Regions from separate parts of the Homo sapiens genome. Here all the other regions are linked to region 3. Evidence: promoter capture Hi-C in 16 types of primary human blood cells and fetal thymus (Javierre and others, 2016). All regions are on one chromosome and are shown on one strand. Each heading gives the region's core, a stretch centred on a gene start or on the middle of the fragment in contact. The rest is flanking DNA. Distances are from core to core; before and after follow the strand shown. Region 1 holds the start of KPNA1 (karyopherin subunit alpha 1). Region 2 overlaps KPNA1 (karyopherin subunit alpha 1). Region 3 holds the start of POLQ (DNA polymerase theta). Region 4 overlaps KPNA1 (karyopherin subunit alpha 1). Region 5 overlaps FAM162A (family with sequence similarity 162 member A). Region 6 holds the start of WDR5B (WD repeat domain 5B). Region 7 overlaps KPNA1 (karyopherin subunit alpha 1).

What was found. The method cuts DNA at HindIII sites, captures the fragments that hold promoters and counts their contacts. A CHiCAGO score of 5 or more calls a contact.
Region 1: a contact is called between the fragment with the promoter of KPNA1 here and the fragment with the promoter of POLQ in region 3, in 5 of 17 cell types (naive CD4 T cells, total CD8 T cells, total CD4 T cells and 2 more). The highest score is 8.0, in naive CD4 T cells.
Region 2: a fragment that was not itself captured here is called in contact with the fragment with the promoter of POLQ in region 3 in 1 of 17 cell types (monocytes); the score reaches 5.3 in monocytes.
Region 4: a contact is called between a fragment that was not itself captured here and the fragment with the promoter of POLQ in region 3, in 1 of 17 cell types (naive B cells). The highest score is 5.1, in naive B cells.
Region 5: a contact is called between a fragment that was not itself captured here and the fragment with the promoter of POLQ in region 3, in 4 of 17 cell types (fetal thymus, total CD8 T cells, non-activated CD4 T cells and 1 more). The highest score is 7.8, in fetal thymus.
Region 6: the fragment with the promoter of WDR5B here is called in contact with the fragment with the promoter of POLQ in region 3 in 9 of 17 cell types (fetal thymus, naive CD8 T cells, neutrophils and 6 more); the score reaches 10.9 in fetal thymus.
Region 7: a contact is called between a fragment that was not itself captured here and the fragment with the promoter of POLQ in region 3, in 1 of 17 cell types (monocytes). The highest score is 5.4, in monocytes.

What each region holds. Positions count from the first base shown.
Region 1 is chr3:122,513,533-122,516,660 of GRCh38, reverse strand. It overlaps KPNA1 (karyopherin subunit alpha 1), which reads left to right and starts at 1,722. Exons shown (of 14, transcript NM_002264.4): 1 at 1,722-1,904. LOC107984000 (a long non-coding RNA gene) reads right to left here and starts at 1,632. Exons shown (of 2, transcript XR_924403.3): 1 at 1,533-1,632. RefSeq lists a silencer at 1,755-2,444. The HindIII fragment of the contact is 3,104 bases long and covers 1,333-3,128 here.
Region 2 is chr3:122,453,144-122,456,380 of GRCh38, reverse strand. KPNA1 (karyopherin subunit alpha 1) reads left to right here. Exons shown (of 14, transcript NM_002264.4): 6 at 2,380-2,511. Among named protein-coding and RNA genes, the nearest start is that of WDR5B-DT, 39 kb to the right of the region's middle. The HindIII fragment of the contact is 621 bases long and covers 1,265-1,885 here.
Region 3 is chr3:121,544,304-121,547,257 of GRCh38, reverse strand. It overlaps POLQ (DNA polymerase theta), which reads left to right and starts at 1,270. Exons shown (of 30, transcript NM_199420.4): 1 at 1,270-1,543; 2 at 2,352-2,531. The coding sequence starts at 1,381. RefSeq lists enhancers at 1,122-1,416, 1,308-1,537. The HindIII fragment of the contact is 11,524 bases long and covers 1-2,954 here.
Region 4 is chr3:122,472,899-122,476,092 of GRCh38, reverse strand. The region is part of intron 2 of KPNA1 (karyopherin subunit alpha 1); the gene reads left to right. Among named protein-coding and RNA genes, the nearest start is that of KPNA1, 40 kb to the left of the region's middle. The HindIII fragment of the contact is 1,151 bases long and covers 1,171-2,321 here.
Region 5 is chr3:122,385,458-122,388,750 of GRCh38, reverse strand. All of the region lies in intron 1 of FAM162A (family with sequence similarity 162 member A), which reads right to left. Among named protein-coding and RNA genes, the nearest start is that of FAM162A, 2.9 kb to the right of the region's middle. The HindIII fragment of the contact is 3,328 bases long and covers 1-3,292 here.
Region 6 is chr3:122,414,116-122,417,340 of GRCh38, reverse strand. It overlaps WDR5B (WD repeat domain 5B), which reads left to right and starts at 1,279. Exons shown (of 1, transcript NM_019069.4): 1 at 1,279-3,225. The coding sequence starts at 1,813. The coding sequence ends at 2,805. WDR5B-DT (WDR5B divergent transcript) reads right to left here and starts at 1,135. Exons shown (of 3, transcript NR_125405.1): 1 at 1,091-1,135. RefSeq lists enhancers at 1-481, 585-784, 945-994, 1,025-1,264, 482-1,299 and 1 more. The HindIII fragment of the contact is 1,055 bases long and covers 631-1,685 here.
Region 7 is chr3:122,431,121-122,434,384 of GRCh38, reverse strand. It overlaps KPNA1 (karyopherin subunit alpha 1), which reads left to right. Exons shown (of 14, transcript NM_002264.4): 12 at 597-724. It overlaps WDR5B-DT (WDR5B divergent transcript), which reads right to left. Exons shown (of 3, transcript NR_125405.1): 2 at 1,864-1,918. Among named protein-coding and RNA genes, the nearest start is that of WDR5B-DT, 17 kb to the right of the region's middle. The HindIII fragment of the contact is 602 bases long and covers 1,602-2,203 here.

The sequences.
Region 1 (3,128 bases), core at 473-2,972, 970 kb before region 3:
GGTATGATAACATTTTTGTAAAAGTAACATACATAGGAATTCAACTTCCAGCAATGGCCTACTGTTGTTTTCAATCAACCTTTCCACTACAGAGAACAACTGAACAAAATATAAAAACGTTAATGTACTGAAGAGCTACCAAGGAAGTGAGAATTTGTGAGTGCAAGGTCTGGAAGAAAAAGGAAGCCACCAGAGGTTAGCCTGATATTTGCCATCATTTTTCCAAAGCTAAGGTGATTGCTGACTCTGAAAGCAGTGGCTGAAACAGGGAGAAGAGCTTATGGCTGTCTCATGGGGCTTAGAAGGCCCACCAAAGAGAAGAGGCCCTAGTAAATACCCCAGACTTTTGGATGGGACCATCAAGGACTAGCTAGGAATAAGGGTGAACCGGAAATAAATTAGCTTTCCCAAAGACTGAAGACCGGCTCTGAATAATCAGTCTTAGTTCCTTATTGGAATAAGGTGATCTGTCTTCAGTCTAGCTGTGGTCAGGCAAACTTGCCCTTAAGTCTCTCCTGTTGAACACACCTTCCCTTTCCCCAGCCCCCTTGCTCAAACTCAACTCTGATCTTAGTAAACACAACATCAGCGGGAGAATGCTGATGCAGCAGAGAGAAGTCCAGGACAAATGAACATTGCATAACCTAGGATTCAGGTAGAGTGGTCCTCTCTCCTCTCCTCTTCCCTGGGACATTTATAAATGTATTAATCTACCTCATCTCTTTCACCTTGCTTCTTGGCATGTGTTTTAAATCTGTCTACTATTCCGTGATCCCTGCTAGGCTGGCTTCAGTTTTTCTTCTTTTGAAGCCACTACTCCATTTGCTCCCCCAAAGAATTCCATGAAATTTAACATTAGCAATCATTTGCTCCAAGTTTTCGTTTGAGAGCAGTTGAGAGTAAAACGAGTATGTGTTTCATGTAGTTTCATTATTATTATTATTATTATTGTTATTATTATTTTTGAGGCAGGGTCTCACTCCGGTTGCCCAGGCTGGAGTGTAGTGGCGCGATCTCGGCTCACTGCAGTCTCACCGTCAACCCCGGGCTCAGGTGATTCTCCCACCTCAGCCTCCCGAGTAGCTGGGACTTCAGGCGCCCGTCACCACCCCCTGCTAATTTTTGTGTTTTTAGTAGAGACGGGGTTTCGCCATGTTGCCCAGGCTAGTCTCAAAACTCCTAGCCTCAAGTGATCCACCCACCTCGGCCTCCCAAGGTGCTGGGATTACAGGTGTGAGCCACCGCGCCCGGCCCTTAATTATTTTTGATACTACGCATACGTTATCAAGCAAAGGGGATGGGAGATAACTAAAAAAGGAATGTCCAGAAGCTTCCTGCATTCATGCTGCATGTGAGCCCTTTAGACACGAGGCGCTGACCTACTAATTTTGTAATACTCCCTCAGCCTTCAATCATTCCATCATTCATTCCATCAACGCGTATTAGGTACTTAGAAGCTATACAGAGGTGAGCATCGATCCGCCCTGGAAGAGCTTAGCAAAGACAGGTTTGTACATATAACTTTCTCCAACCTTTGCCATGGTCTGCAAACCTCCTTCTTAGCGAGACCCCCTCCCCGACCCCCGACTCTTCACAGGCTGGGCGCTAACCATTAGGAATGTCCGGCGAGAGAGCGTTACAAGACTACGTCTCCCGGCAGCCTCTGCGACAAGCGCCGGAGGGGCGCGCGTAGGCGCTCGGGCCGGCCCCCGCACGCAGGCGCACTGCGAACGCCGGCTGAGCTGAGTCTCGCTGCTCGGTGCGAGGCGGCGGAGAGCGAGGCCTGGTGAGCACCGCCGAGGCGCGGGCCAGCTCTTCGAGGTTGTGCGCGGGAGTGGCACGGCGGGCGGGCGAGCGAGGGGCTAACTTCAGCGGTGGCACCGGGATCGGTTGCCTTGAGCCTGGTGAGTGCTGGGGCCTTGCGGCCCCGGCCCCTCCCCCTCCCGCCGGCAGATCCGGGCAGTCCCGGAGGGACTCAGGAGAGGCCCTGGGGCGAGGGCGGGTGCCGGCAGGGCCTAGAGCCGGGGTTCCTGGGCCGGACGCTCGCGCCGCGTCCGTGCGTCACGGGCCCGGCTGTCCTAACGGCCACAAGGCCGGCGGAGGAGAGGGTGGGGGTGGGGAGCCCTGGTGTGATCGCCATCGGGAACGCCGGTCGAGGCTAGGCGGGGCGGGGCGGCGTGGCGCGGCGGCGGGGCTGTAAGCGGCGCCGGGGACTGCGGGGCGCCGAGGCAGCGGGCGGAGAGGAGGCGAGCGCGGAGCCTGCGCCGCGGCCGGGCGGCGGGCGGGAGGCGGGGGTGGGCCGCGCAGAGCGCTGTGACAGAGGCAGGAAGGAGCAGGGGTGGCGTGTAAAAATTCTAACCCTGGCAAAAAGGGACCGTCTTGGGAATTCACAAGTTACAGACCGGGTCGGAGCCGGCGGCCCGGAGGGAGGTGGGGGAAGCGGGGGGTGGAGACGGCCGGCTGCAGTTTACCGATGTCATAACAACATGGGCCTGGAGCGGCTGATCGGGGGTGTGGTAATTATAGCAATGACAGAACTTGGTCTGCACGCCGCGTGTGCGATGCGAGGGAAGCAGCGAGGTATCGGATTAAGCTCAAAACGGGAGGAGGAAACAAGGATGACTGGAGTCAAGGAAGTCGTCATGAAGTAATGTTTTAGGATTGGGTCGTGTTCCACTTTTAAATGAAAGCGTTCAAAATATTTGATTTTTAAGGTTTCAACTCAGAACAAACGATTGCCGAGTTTTTGTTTGTATTTTAAAGAGATGGGGTCTCGCTATATTGCCCAGGCTGTACTCCAACTCCTGAGCTCAAACTGTCCTCTTGCCTCAGCTTCCCAAGTAGCTGGGACTAGTCTTGGGCAACCACACCCAGCTCTGCAGAGTATTTTTTTTTCTGAAACGTACTGTCAAGTAATATTAACTTGAATTTCACCCTTTTTTCTTAAATAAACGGTTGCTTAAAAATCTCTATTAGTAGATGAAGTGATTTCCCCCCTCCTGTTTTGTTTTTTTTTTTCTTAAGAGATGGAGTCTTGCTTTGTTTCCCGGGCTGATCTGGAACTCCTGGCCTCAAGGCATCCTCCCTACTAGCTGGAACTACAGGCGGATGCCACCAGCAAGGCTCAT
Region 2 (3,237 bases), core at 326-2,825, 910 kb before region 3:
TTATTTTTTTTCCAGATTGCTTTTCCTTAGAGTTTTCATTTATTTGACTTTATGTTTGCAGTATCTGATGACTGTTTATTGAACTTTGAGCCTGCCTTGTGGTGGGACAGTTTGCTTTTATACTTACATCATATGACTCTGGTTTACAAATTAATTTTCCTAGTAAGCAAAAGAAACTACATCTTAGGTGAACTTGTTTTTTCTTTTTTAGTATAAATAATCTGGCATACTGTTATTTAAAATTTCTTGAACTAGATATCCAAACTACAAGCAAATGAAATATTTCTGGGTCAGCATTATGTTTCAGGAAACTATGACTGGGCTTCGTAATGTATTAGATTAGGAGGCTGTAACTTAGTCCTTGTCTTTGACTGTGTAACATTACTCGAGTCATTAGTCAAATTGTTGGATTTTTTTTCAGATAGTTTCCTCATTTGTACACAAGAAAAGCCAGATACTTTACATCTCTGGGTTGTTGTAGGGATCATCTGCGAGTATGTGAATAGTACTTTGAAAATATAAAGTGGCCGGGTGCGGTGGCTCATGCTTGTAATCCCAGCACTTTGGGAGGCCTAGATGGGAGGATGACTTGAGATCAGGAGTTCAAGGCCAGCCTGACAAACATGATGAAACCTCGTCTCTACTAAAAATATAAAAATTAGCCGGGCGTGGTGGCACATGCCTGTAATCCCAGCTACTTGGGAGGCTGAGGCAGGAGAATCACTTGAATCCGGGAGGTGGAGGTTGCAGTGAGCTGAGAACGTGACATTGCACTCCAGCCTGGGCAACAAGACTGAGACTCTGTCTCAAAAAAGAAAAAAAAGAAAATATAAAGTACGGTACAAATGTCAAGTTTTAATTCAGACGTACTGAAAGGGACTGAGTGTTGCTTTCATTAGTAATTTAATCATAGAGATAAATATGGGAAGAATTTTTATTTCATGATATCTGGGGTTTAATCTGTAAGTCCCCAGAATTTTTGTTATAACAAAAAGGGACCAGATACGGGCTCTTTAACCGAAGTACTCCTACTCTGGGCCTCCCTGCTGCTACTAAACCACCTTACCTCACTCATGTATGTCACTTTTATAGTTTTCTTTGGAACATCCATTGGTTATGTGTCTTCTGCTATGAATTTTCTATCACTAACATGGCTTTGAACGTGATTTGATCAGATGGCCCATTTTCCTGTCTTCCTCTATTCCCAAAGATTAATGAATTTAGTTTTCTACCTGACAGCTACCTTTTAGTTAATCTGGAAGCTTAGAAGAATCACAGGTCATTTGATGACGACTTGTTATTTTCTCTGATTTAAAGGACATGCCATGGAATTTTTCTTTTTTTCTGTGTATGTGCTTTATTAAATAGAAGACAGAATGGTGGAAGAAACAACCTGAAATGTAATTAAGAACTCTTAACTAAATAGAAAAGAGTTCATTATTGGATTTCTCAATATTAAGCTAAAGAGTCAAGTTAGTGTTAGAGATATATTTTAGTAATATGCTCTATTTTTTGTTGGCCATAATTTCCTTTATATCTTCTGTTTACCAGTGCTGTAATGCTATATATCAACCTTTAGTCAGTTTACCTTCATTTTTCCCTCCCTATTAAGAATGCCCAAAAAGTCCTATCTCTGTATTTTGGTTTGGAGCTCTCTCATTTATTGGAAGCTCTTATTCTTTGAAGTTGTCATTTCTTTTCATTATGTGCTGTTAACTCCTTTCACCTACTTATCATTTGATACCTTTTGCCTTTTTCACTGTGCCTGTATTTTATGTTTCACACTAACATTCTCCCCCCATTTTACTTTGCCCATTCTACAGAAGTTTTTAAATCTTTTTTATTAGATAACATACATGGTACAGGCTAAAAGGCACATAAAGCTTTCCAGTGAAAAGTATCTTTTTCATCCTTATTCCCTAGTTACCATCACCTTTCTATGCAGGCAACAAGTATTTAGTTTCCTCTAACTCATTCTGAAGATAATCTGTGCAATAAGTAAATTAATGCATATATTCCTTTTTAACGCTTTTAGAAAATATGGTATAATGCCATATTAATGTACACTGTTTGCATTTTGTTTTCATTTATATCTTGGGAGATCATACCATATCAGCATATGTAACACTCTCTCATTCTTTTTATGGTGTCATGTTTACTCTTTCTTGAACTGAAATTTTAGACACCCTGAATATTCTTCTAGGTTGAGGTATTTCTTCTGGATATTCTTCTTTTAAAATTAATATAGTACTCAACTGATAGGTTATGTGCAAATAATGATCTCAGAATCTTTTTTTCATGTACAGAAAATGTTACTGTTATAAGTAAACAAACTTTTACATTCTAAAAAGATAATGAAAATTATTTTTATCTTTATAGTTTGAATCAGCTTGGGTACTGACAAATATTGCTTCAGGAAATTCTCTTCAGACCCGAATTGTGATTCAGGCAGGAGCTGTGCCCATCTTCATAGAGTTGCTCAGCTCAGAGTTTGAAGATGTCCAGGAACAGGTAAAAATGAAACAAAAAGAAGCAGGTGAAAGAAAGTTTTTGGCTGGGCATGTCGCTCACTCCTGTAATCCCAACATTTTGGGAGGCCAAGGTGGGTGGATCACGAGGAGTTCGAGACCAGCCTAGCCAACATGGTGAAATCCCGTCTCTACTAAAAATACAAAAATTAGCCGGGCATGGTGGTACGTGTCTGTAATCCCAGCTACTTGGGAGGCTGAGGCAGGAGAATTGCTTGAACCCGAGAGGTGGAGGTTACAGTGAGCCGAGATCGCGTCATTGCACTCCAGCCTGGGTGACGAGAGCAAGACTTTGTCTCAAAAAAAACAAAACAAACAAAAAAAGAAAAACAAAAAAAACCACAAAATTTCCCAACATAATAAGGGGCTGAGTTTCACCAGTTGGCTTTGGTAATCTATGGATTGTCACAAAGGAGTGTTCTAGAAATTTAGTCTTAACCAAATAGAAAATTTCTTAGTGACTGTAGGCAGAATTTCTCTTAGACACATAAAATAATCTTCCCCTTCCAAACCTGACATTCTTTAAGCCCTGTATATGTACTTTTTTAGACCATGTAAGCAGTTACTGATAGAGGTTTTTTCTTGTAGAAATTTCAAGTGTTGAAAGTAGGCCAGGTGCTGTGGTTCCTGCCTGTAATTCCAGCACTTGGGAGGCTGAAGTGGGCAGCTTGCTTGAGCCCAGGAGCTCGAGACCAGCCAGGGCAACATG
Region 3 (2,954 bases), core at 21-2,520:
CATCATACCCGGCTAATTTTTTGTATTTTTGTAGAGACGGGGTTTCACCATGTTGGCCAGGCTGGTCTAGAGCTCCTGACCTCAGGTGATGCACTCATCTCGGCCTCCCAAAGTGCTGGGATTACAGGCGTGAGCCACCACGGCCGGCGAGATCTCTTTTATTTCTTTAATAGTACTCTTCATTTCTGCCCAAGCATATGGCACACTTCATTAACTGACTTGTTTAATGTCTGCCTTATTCTCTAGACTCTTTCTCTTTGAGAGCAGGAACCATTTTATGCCATTTCACTGCCATTTACCCAGTGGCTAGCTTACAGTAGATACTCAGTAAATAGTTGTTGATTGCGTAAAAGGCCAAGAGAAAAATGTTTCATTCACGGAGTAATGTCGCCATCTCGTGGAACTTTAGAATATTGTCATTTAAATCAAAAAAATGTTTTCACGGAAGGAATTGATGGTTCGAATGCTATTTTCCAGATTGTATTCGAGTGTTTTTTTTTTTTTTAATTGGACTGGACCTTTTGAGATTTTTAGTGCTCTAGAACTGCACAGCCTCTTCAGGTCAGGCTTAGGGCCTACTAGTTTTGCTTGGTGAAATGAATTATGCAACTAGGTAATGAATGGTCACCGTTTTACGTTCAGAACTCGTTCGCTTCTACCTTTACAAAAGGGACAACACAGATGCATTACTAAGCTCTTGGCTCATAACGATCCCTGGGGTATATTCAGAGCCCCTTCCTCGCGGCGTTCATATAGTGTCTCAGGGGTCTGTCAGCCAGCAATCCCCAATTCCTCATTACATATTCCTCACAATGCATGCTGGCTAAAATGGAAATTGTGTTCAGAAATAGCCCTGCCCTACCATCATATACTAGGAGAAAGGAGGAAATTATGCTCTATTAGAAACCCTAGGCTATCTTGCATAATGCTTCTCAATCTGAAATAATTTTTTACAGAATACCAATACGTTAAGAAGAGCTACTTCCCTGATCTACCTATTATGGGCAGCCCATTTTATGAAGTTAGCATGGCCTTCCTATTCAAACCAGAAATGGACAAAAGGAGAAGGAAGGCTTTTAGGTCAGTATGGTTATAACTGTAGATTCTGTATTCTTCCTCTTTAATCTATCTCTCATATTAACCAACCAGGAGGTTGGAGGCCGGAAGTCTTAGACGCCAGCGAGAGCCGCTCCTTCCCCACGAGTCTATGGCTTTCGGGTTACTTAAGCCACGGAGAACTCTATGGTTCCGGGGCGGGCCGGGAGGTTTGAGTTTGAAGACTGGCGGGAAGATGTCCGCAGCTGTTGCCAGGCCAGGGTTCTCCCGAGAGGGAGGACGCTGGGACTGTGGCTTGCCCTGATCGGCCGAGAAGAGTTTGCCATGAATCTTCTGCGTCGGAGTGGGAAACGGCGGCGTTCAGAATCAGGCTCAGATTCGTTCTCGGGAAGCGGCGGTGACAGCAGTGCCAGCCCCCAGTTCCTCTCCGGGTCCGTGCTGAGCCCGCCGCCCGGCCTTGGTCGCTGCCTGAAGGCCGCAGCTGCAGGTGCTCCAGGAACCCGGGAGGCCGCGGGCAACGGGGGCAGCTCCGCCGGGCCATGGGTCGGGAGGTGTCCTCACCCCACGGGACTTGCTTCGTTGCATACCCCATTGGGCTTCTACTCCCCTTCTCTGTGACTGGGGCCTGGTGTGGCAGGTCACTTTCTGTTCAGACATACGCGTGTTTTCAGTGATCGCCTGGTATTAATGTTCACGTGGCTTCTGGATCTTTCGACCTTTAGAGAAACAACTTCCTAGTTAGCTTCATCCCATCATCTGTTGGGCGGCTCGTTCCTGGTAGTACCCAGTACTCCTTACAGACCCTTAAGACAGGATTGTTGGGCCTGGAGTACGGCACAGGCTGTTCGGCGTCCAGGGGAAGGCTGGAAGGGATTCGTAATGAGATTGGTTGGGTGTCCCGTGGATGTCGACCCAGTTTTTTAAAATCGTTAGTTGTGCAGTCGTCATGGAACTAAAACTTACTATAAATAGAAACTCACCTAACTTAGCTTTGTAATGCTTGCATATTGCCCTCCTCCCCCAACTACACCCGTAATTCCAACACTCTTTATCTACTGTGTATTGCACGCTTTTTTGTTCGTTTGAGGCTTTTAAGGAATTTTTATTATATGCAGTAAATAACAATTTATTACTTTTCTATACATGGTCAATTTCTCATAAGATTCTTGAAGTCAGGATGTGCTTTAAAGAGCTTCATTTCAACACATAGGAATTCCAACACACGGTGAAGGGCTAACTGTAAAACTCATATATTAGAAGTAAATTAAATTTTAATTTTTTCTTTTTCCTAAAAGGAGAATGCAAGCCTACAGTTCCTGACTACGAAAGAGACAAGCTACTATTGGCAAACTGGGGACTTCCTAAAGCAGTTCTGGAAAAATACCACAGTTTTGGTGTAAAAAAGATGTTTGAATGGCAGGCAGAGTGCCTTTTGCTTGGACAAGTCCTGGAAGGAAAGAATTTAGTTTATTCAGGTATCCAAATTTATGTAAACTAATTACTATTTTTAAGATATGAATGTAAAGAATACTCTATTGAGGTAGTTGTGGTTCGTTTAAAAGGTGAATGAGGCAGTGCTTTATAACTAGAGAAAATCGTACAATATGTGTGAAAAGTGGAGTTTTATTTATATTTAAATTACAAAAGTTTTATTGTTTGACTGGGGTGGAGGGAAGCAAGAAAAATGACAATTTAAAGAGTGGGCAATTCTGCCTGCCATTATTCTCAACAAACATATATCCCAGTGAGTGTGCAATGGGAGATGTAAATCTGCCCTTCCCCTGTTTGATCCTGGTTGCTTTTCAGGGTATGAGCATTATCATTACATGTTTGTTAATTTACCTTTTTTTTTTCTTGAGATAGAGTTTGTCTCCAGGCTGGAGTGCAGTGGCGCTATG
Region 4 (3,194 bases), core at 497-2,996, 930 kb before region 3:
GTGTTCGTTTTCATGCCAAGACCTTGCTGTTTTGATTACTATAGTGTGTAACATACAGTTGACCCTTGAATAAGGTCTTGAACTGCTTGGGTCCACTTATATGCAGATTTTCCCCTGCCTTTGCCACTTCTGAGACAGCAAGACCAACCCTTCCTCTTCCCTCCTCCTCAGCTTACTCAACTTGAAGATGAGAAGATGAAGGCCCTTATGATGATCCACTTCCACTTTATGAATTGTAACTATATTTTCTCTTCCTTATGATTTTCTAAATAACATTTTCTTTTCTGTAGCTTACTTTATTGTAAAAAATACAGCATATAATACATATATCATGCAAAATGTGTTAATTTAGTGTTTAAGTCATTGATAAGGCTTCCAGTCAATGGTAGCATATTTGTAGTTAGGCTGTGGGGGAGTTAAAAGTTATATGTAGGTTTTTGACTGCGTAGGGGATTGGCTTCCCTAACGCCTGTGTCATTTAAGGGTCAATTGTATTTTGAAATCAGTCAGTGTGAAGCCTCCTCCTCTGTTCATTTTTGCTCCAGATTGCTTTGGCTATTTGGGGTCTTTTGTAGGTCCATATGAATTTTAGGATTTTAAAAAATTTCTGTGAGAAATGTCATTGGAATTTTGATGGAAGTTACATTGAATCTGTAGATAGCTTTGGTTAGTATGAACATGTTAATACTGTTCTTCTAATTCATGAACATAAGAATATCTTTCCATTCATTTATTTCAATTTGTTTCATCTGTGTTTTATGTAGTTTTTAATGTACAGGTCTTTCACCTCCTTGGCTAAATTTATTCCTAAGTATTTTATTTTATTTTTGTAGCCATTGTAAATGGGATTGTTTTCTTAATTTCTTTTTCAGATAGTTTGTTGTTAGTGTATGGAAATGCTACACGTTTTTGTTTATTGATTTTATATCCTACAACTTTCCTGAATCCATGTATTATTTCTAACAGTTTATTGGCGGAGTCTTCAGAGTTCTTTCCATGTAAGATATGTCTTCAGCAATCAGGGACAATTTCATTTCTTCCTTTTTAATTTAGATGCCTTTTATTTCTTTCTCTTGCCTAATTGCTCTGGCTAGGACTTCCAACACCATATTGAGTGAAGATGGCAAGAGTGGGCATCCTTGTCTTGTTTCTGATCTTAGAGGAAAAGCTTTCAACTTTTCACTGTTTAGTATGATGCTAACTGTTGGTTTGTCATATATGGCCTTTATTGTGTGGAGGTAAATTCTTTCTATACCTAATTTGTTGAGAGTTTTTATGAAAGGATGTTGAAATTTGTCTCATGCTTTTTCTGCATCTATTGAGATGATCATAGGTTTTTGTCCTTCATTCTGTTAATGTGATTCACATTCATAGATTTGCGTATGTTGAACCATCCTTGTATCCCTGAGGTAAATCCTACATGTTCATATTGAATGATCTTTTTAATGTGCTGTTTGTTGAATTTTGTTAGTGTTTCGTTGAACTCCAGCACCGTTTATTGAAAAGACTACCTTTGCACCATTGTATTTTATCCTTTTCTTTGTTGAAGATCATTGTACTAGATTTATGAGGTCTATTTCTGGGCTCTCTATTCTGTTTCATTGATCTGTTTGTCTAGTCTTTTGCCAATACCATGCTGTCTTGCTTACGATAAATCTTGAAGTTGGGTAGAGTCATTCCTCTAACTTTGTCCTTTTCCTTCAATATTTTGTTGGCTATTTTGGATCTTTTTCCTTTCCATATACATTTTAGAATCATCTTGGTGATAGAAAATAACTTTCTGGGATTGTAATTGCATTGAATCTATAGGTCTAGTTGGGAAGCACTGACATCTTGCCAATGTTGAGTCTTTCTTTATAGATAGGAATAATACCTCTCCAGTTATTTAGGTCTTTGATTTGTTTCATCAGAGTTTTGTAGTTTTCCTCATAGAAATCTCGTATATGTTTTGTTAGATTCATACCTAAGTATTCTGTTTTTTGGGGAGTGTAATGTAAATGACACTTTTTAATTTCAAATTCCCTTTATTCATTGCTGGTGTATAGGAAAGCAGTTGAATTTTGTATATTAACCTTCTGTCATGTAACCTTGCTATAATTGCTTATTAGTTCCAGAGGTTTTTTTATTGATTCTTTTGAATTCTCCATGTGGACGACTGTGTCATCAGAGAAAAAAAGATGGTTTTATTTCTTCTGTTCCCATCAGCATGCCTTTTTCCCTTTTCTTGTCTTACTGCATTCATTAGGACTTGCAATACAATGTTGAAAAGGAGTAGTGAGAGGAAATCTCCTTGTCTTGCTCCTGATCTTAGCAGAGAAGCTTCTAGTTTCATACCATTTAAGTATGATGTTAGCTGTAGGTTTTTTTCTGGATATTCCTTGTCAAGTTGAGGAATGAGAATTTTTAAAATCGTGAATGGGTGTTGGATTTTTTTTCATATGCTTCTTCTGCATCTATTGATATGGGTGTGTGATTTTTCTTCCTTAGTCTGTTGATGTGATGGATTTTATTAATGATTTTCAAATGTTGGACCAGTAATTTACACCTGGGATAAATCCCACTTGATCATGGTATATGATTCGTTTTATACATTGTTGGGTTTGTTTTGCTAATGTTTTGTTGAGGATTTTGCACCTGTGTTCATAAAAAATGTTGGTCTGTAGTTTTGTTATAATGTATATTTGTCAAGTTTTGGAATACTCTGATGTTGGCCTCTACTGAATGAGTTAGGAAGTATTCCTTCTGCTTCTATCTTGTGTAGGAGATGGTACAGAATGGGTATAATTTCTTTCCTAAATGTTTTATAAAATTCACCAGCAAACCCATCTAGTCCTGGTGTTTTCTGTTTTGGAAGGTTGATTGGTTCAGTTTCTTTAATACAGGCCTATTCAGATTGTTTCTTGTGTGAGTTTTGGTAGTTTGTGGCTTTCAGGGAAGTGGTTCATTTTATCTAGGTGATCAAATTTGTGGAAATAGAATTGTTCATAGTATTCTTTTTTTATTTTTATTTTTTTGAGACAGAGTCTCGCTGTTACCTAGGCTGAAGTGTAGTGGTGCAATCTTGGCTCACTGCAACCTCTGCCTCCCGGGTCCAGGTGATTCTGGTGCCTCAGCCTCCTGAGTTGCTGGGATTACAGGCGCCCGCCACCACACCTGGCTAATTTTCATATTTTTAGTGGAAACGGGGTTTTGCC
Region 5 (3,293 bases), core at 379-2,878, 840 kb before region 3:
GATTCTCATCATTAGCCCTTCTGACTCTACTCTTCCCATTTTTGTGGCCATTTGATTCGACTGATCTCATCTTTCTACAAGGATTCAATGCCTCCTTACATTGTACCACCAAATTCTCTCACTTCATCTCCAACCTCTATGACCAATCTTCTTTAATGTCTTCTTTCCCAGTTCCTATTATTTACACCATGTCACACCTCCAAGGCTTAGTCCTTGCTTCTATTCTGTGCTACTCTCTGGAAGGACTCCTCCATTCTGTTTTAAAAATCAACTCCAGACTAATTGCTCCCATATCTTTATCTCCATAACTTTACTCTTCCTTTGCCCTCAGGTCTTCAACCTCTCACAACCTATAACTCAGTGCCACCTAAACCTACTCAATAATGCACCATCTTCTCTGCCAAACTAACACAAATCTTTGATGGCGTTTCTGATTATTTTTCCAACTTTCTTATTTCTGACAATGAGGCAATACTTCTGTAGTCCTCAACATTAAAAAACTTGTCTTTAAGTCCTTCCTTACTCAGTATCTCCAAACTCATCCTTTCTTCAAGACACTTCCTAAATATATTCGTTATTTCCATCATCACCTCACACATCAGTTACTGTAATATCTTCATAGGTAGCAGCAATTCAACTGGTATGTAGTTGCTGAGTTAATTTTCCAGAAATGTTTCTTGTGTTACTTCTCCTGCTAAAAGGTTTTTTTGGTCCAAATTCATTTGGTTCAAACGTCTCCAAACACTACACTTTACCTCCTATTGCCTCCTGATCAAAATCCCTAAGGTAATCTTTCCTCTCTCATATCCTTTTTCAGACTCATTACCGCCCCTACATGTGCTCACAACTCATTACCGCCCCTACATGTGCTCACATCACTCTCACACCCCTTCATTTCAATGGAGCCTTCAAGAATCTCAGAATTCTTGAAGCCAATGGTATATTATATATGTTTGTTTGTTCATTGCAATAAATCAGCCCTAGGAGTGGGGCAGTCCATTCATTTTAGAGCCTTCACAGTATACACACAGGGCATCCATTGTGTACTCAATAAATACTTGGCAAGACCTGGAAAGGAGCAATAAGTAAAGCCAAATGTGGGGGTAGTTAAAATGCGTACGTTCTCATTTAGGTTTGGTTAGCAAGAACAAACAAAAAGAATAAGGTAGCAGAATGTGGTAGAAATAAAATCAGAATGGGAGCCAGGGGATACTGGCTATGTCCCAGGTCTGTACCTGTGTGGTCCTTGGCAAGCTGATTCCCTTCTTGGCCCTTAAGTTTCCTCATCTGTAAAAATTAGAGGACTAAATTACCTGACTTCTAAGATACCTCTCTACTCTAATGCTCTGAGATGTGGGTTAAACTAAAAGGAAGGCAGCCCATAGTCCATTACATTGGTAACAATGACGGTAACAAATTCATTTTCAAATCTGACCAGTCAACAGAGTTTAGGGGAGCAAAACTTTCTTTCAATAAGAAACATTCTTGTAAGGTCATTCCATTCCTTTGAACTAATAATCATTCTGTGGAAAGATACAATATCCTAAAAGTTATATCTATTTTATTCTTTCAGGAGAAAACAGGTGTGAAAACTCACCTTACATTTGCAGCATGTTCCAAGATATTTCCTAGCATCCTTCATCCAAAAAATATGTATTGCCTGTCTACTATGAACTGAACACCAATAAGTGGTAAGGACTGAGTAAAAACAAAACAGAGCCAGTGTTTACCCTTATGAAACCCAGCGTAGTGTGGGTAAATGGCCATTTAGTTCCTAATCATCTGTATCAGTGCTTTTTAACTTAAAGAGCATGAACTGCTCTGAGTAGCAGATATAAAATATGGACCCTCTCTCTCAAAAATGGTATACAATCATAAAAATTTGAGAAGTTCACAGGACCTCTCAAATGTGGAGGTGTCCAGTACCACAAGTTAACAACCCTGATCTGTATCTACAACTACATCTACAAAACAACAAATTCGAGCTCATAAAAGCCTACATTATGTTTGCTATATTGTTTGCTAAGGGAGTATACCAAAGATTTCCAACAGAAACAAAAGTAAAGGTCCATCATTTATAAGGTTAAGTTTTGATCATCTGAAATTTCACTTACCTAGAGAATCTTATTCCAAATATTCTGGATAAGTAAGGTATGCCTAGATTATGCTTCTTTTCTTTTTTTTTTTTTTTTTTAGACAGGGTCTCACTCTGTTGTCCAGATTGGAATGTGGTAGCATGATCGTATTATAGCTCAATGCAGCCTCAAACTTCTGGGCTCAAGTGATCCTCTTGCCTCAGCCTCCTGAGTAGCTGAGACTATGGGTTTGAGCCACCATGCCCAGCTAATTTTTAAAAGTTTTTTTTGTAGAGACAGGGTCTTGCTAAGTTAGCCAGGCTGGTCTCAAACTCCTGGTCTCAAGCAATCCTCCAGTATCAGCCTCCCAAAGTGCTGGGATAGCAGGTGTGAGCCACCACATTGAGCCTACATTTCTATTTGATCTTTCATTCCTTTGGCTAAGGCTGCTTATTAAAGCAGTCTTCTTTCTTGAAAAGCCATTTGCACATGAAGGTGTACTTTCATTTCAGAACTAAATCTGCATTTCATGACTCTTCCATTTCAGATTAATGAGATCCAATTAGTCATGACAAATTCACACACGCACAGCCCCTGAATGAACAGCTTGAACAACAGCAAAAAGCACAAAAATTCCAGAATTAAAGGGTACCCTCTCCTGGCTCTAACATTTTTTGGCAAAGAGATCCTGGACAAGTCATCTCTGACCTATGTTTCTTCATTTATAAAGTGTGGGAGGAATAAGACTTACCTGAGAGGGCTGCTATGAGAAATCCATCCAACAAAATAATGTATATGAAAGTATTTAGCTATGAAGTGGGTGAAAGGTAGTAGGTTGTTGCGGAGTTGCTCACAAAGCATCAGACATTCGTGGAAGATCATATGGAGAGAGCTGCTCATATAACATCCTTAGTGTGCTATTAAAAATTTTATATCTGAAGTAAAATAAATTGTTCTTAAATCACTCAAGGAATTCTGCTTTGGTTAAGTGGTCAATAGTGAAGTTTTTACACATCAGAAGTTTGCAGAGATGCAAAAATATATTTATGCAAGATGCATAAATATATTCTCAAAGCAAGAAGATGAACTACTTACAATATACTCAGTATTAGTTCAAAGATGTCAAAGTAGTTCCAAGATGTCAAAGTTCTTTTCATGCAGTCCATTTTAACTTTTTTACAGAGCAATGATCCTTTCACTTGCCTTGTTGAAAAGCTT
Region 6 (3,225 bases), core at 30-2,529, 870 kb before region 3:
TGGAGTGCACTGGTGGAATCTCAGCTTACTGCACCCTCCACCTCCTGGTTCATGCCATTCTCCCACCTCAGCCTCCTGAGTAGCTGGGACTACAGGCGTGCGCCATCACGCGCAGCTAATTTTTGTATTTTTAGCAGTATTGGTTGCGCCATGTTGGTCAGGCTGGTCTCGGACACCCGACCTAAAGTGTCCCGCCCGACTGGGCCTCCCAAAGTGCTGGGATTACAGGCGTGAGTGCTCGGCCTCGGGCACTCTTTACTGAGCAACAACAGGTTGGAGAAACTAGTAGGGCTTCCAGTTTTTTGGTAAACCTATTGTTTAAAAGTCTGCCTGGTCATCAGATTCCAGTCGTCTTGTTTCTGCCTCAGATGATAAAACTCTAAAATTATAGGATGTGAGATCTGGAAAATGTTTGAAAACACTAAAGGGGCACAGTAATTATGTCTTTCGTTGCAACTTCAATAGCATGTATATTTTACACACTTTCATGACCATTAATCATCTCCTAAAACTGGGGAAAGCTCTCTAAAACCTCCTTAAGAGTAACCTTATCCGTTACCCTATTCCACCAACCTCTTTGTCCTTTTCTGTTTCAAGCAACTTTGAGATACCGACTTCTCTATGGAAGCTTAAGCCGTAGATGCTAAAACAAACGTTTGCTCGTTACTCCCAGCAGAGCACCGGCTTTTAAAGGACCTCAACAGACACGTTTCTTAACCTTTACGAAACTTTTCCAGGGGAAACTTAAACCAGGAATTTTACAATCTGGCATAAATTCTGTCACCCGCCCCGTGACTCCATCGCCACACATGCCACCTGGCTCCACACCACAACAAACAGGAGGGAGCGGAACCCATGCAAAGCAGGAGCTTCCCCCGTTTCCGGCGTCTGGGTGGATCTACGTTAGCTGCCGTTTAGGCAGCTTACGCGTCAGGTGTGGGCCTAAGCCTGCAGCTAAGGTAGGCATCCGCAAATCTAGTCCTTCTCTGTGACAATTTCCAAAAAGAAATGGTTTTTGAAACAACGATCCACTGCTTCCCACACTATCCAGTTAGGTCCGGGACAGACCCTACCCAGCTAATGCACTCACCCAAGAAGGCAGTCGCTTTCGCATTTGAAGGGCGGGGCGAAAAAGACCGGAAATGAACATTGGCGACTTTTTTGCGCAGGCGCAGATGGCCGTCTCCCATTGGTCATCTCGGCTCGGTAGTGGTAGGAGGGACTTCCTTTGCACATGCGCCAGGCTGCTTTTCCGGCTTTGTTGGAGATTGACGCGGCAGTGCACACCTGCTGGTACGAGCAAAAGTAGCCGACAGGCCAGAGTTTCCAGTTTCGGTGGCTTCGTAGGCTTTTAGCTTCTGAAATCCGCTAAAAGCGGCGGTTCATTCATCTTCAAGTACCTAGCCTGACTGGTAGGGCTGCTCAGCATTCCGAAACATTTCGACCTGGGGAGGGGGGCGGCGGTGAAAGAATACTTTCTGTAGAGAGTGCCCCTCGCGTCGCCCCTGCTTTGAAGGCTTTATGTATTAACGGAATGCCGAACATTTGTGTCCTACTTGCTGACAGCGCACAGGATCCTTCTAACAGTATTTCTCAAGTACTTAACAAAAAGATGAAAACTTGAAGTCCAAGCCGTGCTGCTGATTCCGTCTCACAGTTTAAAGACTGTCCAGAAACTTTAAGCTTTCAAAACTGTACATTTTAAAATCCTGTGCGTTTATCTTCATTTTGCTGGGCAGAAAGCCAAAGTACTGGACTGCCTGGTTCAGGGCTGAACGCCTAGTACACCTGCTAACTTGGAGCTTCAGAGCCATGGCAACCAAGGAGTCAAGAGACGCCAAAGCACAGTTGGCCCTCTCCTCATCGGCCAATCAGAGCAAGGAAGTGCCTGAAAACCCAAACTATGCTCTCAAATGTACTCTTGTGGGACACACGGAAGCAGTGTCATCAGTTAAGTTTAGTCCTAATGGAGAATGGCTAGCAAGTTCTTCTGCTGATAGGCTAATCATAATTTGGGGAGCATATGATGGAAAATATGAGAAAACACTCTATGGTCATAATTTGGAAATATCGGATGTTGCCTGGTCATCAGATTCCAGTCGTCTTGTTTCTGCCTCAGATGATAAAACTCTAAAATTATGGGATGTGAGATCTGGAAAATGTTTGAAAACACTGAAGGGGCACAGTAATTATGTCTTTTGTTGTAACTTCAATCCGCCATCCAACCTTATAATCTCGGGATCTTTTGATGAGACTGTAAAAATATGGGAGGTGAAAACAGGAAAGTGTCTCAAGACTTTGTCTGCTCATTCTGACCCAGTTTCTGCTGTTCATTTTAATTGTAGTGGGTCCTTGATAGTGTCAGGTAGCTATGATGGCCTCTGTAGAATCTGGGATGCTGCATCAGGTCAGTGTTTAAAAACGCTCGTTGATGACGATAACCCTCCTGTCTCTTTTGTAAAATTTTCTCCAAATGGTAAATACATTCTCACTGCAACTTTGGACAACACTCTTAAACTATGGGATTATAGCAGAGGCAGGTGCCTGAAAACATACACTGGTCATAAGAATGAGAAATATTGCATATTTGCCAATTTTTCAGTTACTGGTGGAAAGTGGATTGTGTCTGGTTCCGAGGATAACCTGGTTTACATTTGGAACCTTCAGACTAAAGAGATTGTGCAGAAATTACAAGGCCATACAGATGTTGTGATCTCAGCAGCTTGTCATCCTACAGAAAACCTCATCGCATCAGCAGCATTAGAAAATGACAAAACAATTAAACTGTGGATGAGTAACCACTAATCCCTTTGAAAATCAAGTAGTAGAGCCAAGTTGGCCAAAAAACTTGGATATTTAAAAAGACGGTTTCTTTTAATTTTGGCAGTTTGGTATTTTAAAAATTGTCTATTGTTAAATTTTGAGATTCATACACTACATTTACAAAATGAGATAGTTGAAAAAGCACATCTAGAATTCAGCTTCTGACTACCAATCTTTTTTGAGCAACTTTTTGTAATTTTTATGGATTTATGTCACTTTTATTACAGGGATATATTGCATAGTGGTGAAATCTGGGCTTAGTATACCCTCACCCAAATAGTATACATTGTACCTAGTAAATACTTTCCCATCTCTCACCCCACTCCCACCTTTGAAGGCTCTAGTGTCTATGATTCTGCTCTCCACGTCCAGGTGTACACATTGTTTATCTCCCACTTACGA
Region 7 (3,264 bases), core at 653-3,152, 890 kb before region 3:
ATTGAGCTCTTAACAATTTGTTACTGTGGGCAGAACAAAAGAGGAAAGTGAAAGAGAAAAGAACTCAGAGAAAATAGGAGATTATAAGATCATAAACTCCAGGGAAGATGTTTTCAGTGATACCAAGACAGAATAAGGATTAGGGATAGGCTGGGTGCGGTGGCTCCCACCTGTAATCCCTGCACTTTGGGAGGCCGAGGTGGGTGGATCACCTGAGGTCAGGAGTTCAAGGCCAGCCTGGCCAACATGGTGAAGCCCTGTCTCTACTAAAAGTACAAAAATTAGCCGGGTTTGGTGGTGTGCACCTGTAGTCCCAGCTACCCGGGAGGCTGAGGCAGGAGAATCACTTGAACCCAGGAGGTGGAAGCTGCAGTGAGCTGAGATTGCACCACTGCACTCCAGCCTGGGCAACAGAGTGAGACTCCATCTCAAAAAAGAAAAAAAAAGGTTAGAGATAATGACATAACTCTTTTCAATTTATTTCTGACAGGAGAAGGGGTGTTAATAGTCAAACTAGCTTAGAAATTATAATTAGTATCATGAATATTTTTATAAATCTCACAGTTTTTTCCATTTAAGTTTTTCTTTAATTTTAGACTGTGATAGATGCCAACATTTTCCCAGCCCTCATTAGTATTTTACAAACTGCTGAATTTCGGACAAGAAAAGAAGCAGCTTGGGCCATCACAAATGCAACTTCTGGAGGATCAGCTGAACAGATCAAGTAAGTACCAATCAGGCAGCATATTGTAAGTTAAAGAAAAATTATTATTGTGTCTATCACTTTATAACCTCCCACATATTACCTAGAGTAAAAGATTAGCTGCCTTTGAGGGGAAAAGTAAGTGAGAGACGATCTTACCAAATAAGAATGTTTAGTTCCAGTCCTTAGGAAATTGTCCTTGGTGTCATAATTAGATGTGTATTTAATTCTTTATAACTCTCCCATTTCTTTTTGCTGAAAAACAATCCTGGGATATAAGAAGTAGGCATAGTCGAGGCTTGAGGCAATAGAAATCCTTGCTTCAACCTACTCTGGAGCTACTTGTCAGAAATATCTTGGGTAATATAGGTTACTTGTAGAACTTGAGCCCAAGTTTAATAACTCACTCTTGCCCTTTTTAGTTTAGATGTCTTAATAGTAGAATTGGATCAGAATTGAAAGAGTGGTATGTCTGAGAATGAAGTGCCAAATTTAGTAGAGGCAGGTATCTTCTAAAGTACTATGGTATTCTTGTTAAAGGGAGGAGCTGTAGCAGCTCAAGACTTAAATGGCTCCCTTGGTAGCAGCTTAGTGATTGACTGATTGAGATGGAGTCTCTCTGTTGCCCAGGCTGGAGTGCAGTGGCACTGTCGGCTCACTGCAACCTCCGCCTCCTGGGTTCAAGCGATTCTCCTGCCTCAGCCTTCCTAGTAGCTAGGATTACAGGTGAGTGCCACCACACCCAGCTAATTTTTGTATTTTTAGTAGAAACGGAGTTTTCCCCTGTTGGCCAGGCTGATCTTGAATTCCGGAGCTCCGGCGATCCACCTGCCTTGGCCTCCCAGAGTGCTGGAATTACAGGTGTGAGCCATCATGCCCGACGAGCAGCTTATAAGCTTAATGAGTGGAAGAAAACATAAATATGGATGGGAATCAGTTCTTCAAAGGAGCATCATATAATTAAATGCAAAATTCAGGACATCTAGTATTTCAGATAGGGAAAAAAAGTAATGATGAAGAGAAAAATGGAGCCTAGCCTAGACTCAGCCAGTCTTAACTTTATGGGGAATCCAAAATTAAGGAAAGATGGTTTCAAATGAGTGCTAAAGCATTAACTCCTTACTCATACGTAATATCAGACAAACATAGCTACTACTTACATTGTTGCTTTGTGGACTGAATGTAGGCATTCATCAGATGCTAGTTTTGAGTGTTCTGTTTGGAATTAAAAAATAAAAATAGTAACAAAGTACAGAAATTTATCAGGTAGAGAAAATAAGAAATATGTACCTGAAAGAATAAAATTACAAACAGATTAACATATGCAGTAGCTATTTTGGTGAAGTTCATCATGGGCAGGTTATTTCAGGGAGACAGAAGCACATTTGTCTTGTAGGTTTTTTCCAACCTCCAAAATTCTGATTCTAGAGTACTATGATTTTAATTATGCTGTCACCAGATGGTAAAAATAATGAAGTACTATAGTTATTTGAATAAGCTTTATGTTCAAATTCACATTTATAGTTATTAATTGTCTCTATATTTTATAGCAAATATATTTTCTTAATTGAAATAAGCCAGGCCGGGTGCAGCGGCTCATGTCTGTAATCCCACCACTTTGGGAGGCCAAGGCAGGTGGATCACAAGGTCAGGAGTTCGAGACCAGCCTGGCCAACAGGGTGAAACCCCGTGTCTACTAAAAGTACAAAAATTAGCCAGGTGTGGTGGCGTGCACCCGTAATCCCAGCTACTTGTGGGGCTGAGACTGGAGAATCGCTTGAACCCGGGAGGCAGAGGTTGCAGTGAGCTGAGATCATGCCACTGCACTCCAGCCTGGGTGACAGAGTGAGACTCCATTTCAACAAAAAAAAAAAAAGAAGAAGAAGAAATAAACCATAAACATATATATTTTATTATGCCATCTTTCATGAGAAAGTATTCAGGAGTATTTTGCTCTGTTAGAGAAGCGCAGAATTGCTGCTGTCCCTTTTTAAAATTCAGCATAGCTATTTATAATAAAATTAATTACCAACCTCCTAGCAGTTTCTTCTTCCCCACATGAAGAGTTATCTTGAAAGAATGTCACAAAAATATTACAGTCCAAATTACAAAAAACAAACTGACTTTATCACTTATAAAAGACATCTATCTGGCTTCTGCTGCTTCTTGTTGCAGATACCAGATTTGGATGCAAGAAACAATTAGAATATTTTAGGAAATATCTTGGCCGGGTGTGGTGGCTCATGTCTGTAATTCCAGCACTTTGGGAGGACAAGGCAAGCAAATCACTTGAGGTCAGGAGTTCGAGACCAGCCTAGCTAACATGGAGAAACCTTGTCTCTACAAAAATTAGCTGGGCGTGTTGGTGTTCTCCTGTAGTTCCAGCTACTTGGGAGGCTGAGGTGGGAAAATGGCTTGAACCCAGGAGGCAGAGGTTGGTTGCAGTGAGACAAGATCGTGCCACTGCACTCCACCCTCGGAGACAGAGTGAGAGACTCTGTCTCAAAAGATAAAAAAGAATGTTTTAGGAAACATCTAGAATTTTAGGTTGAATATAATCA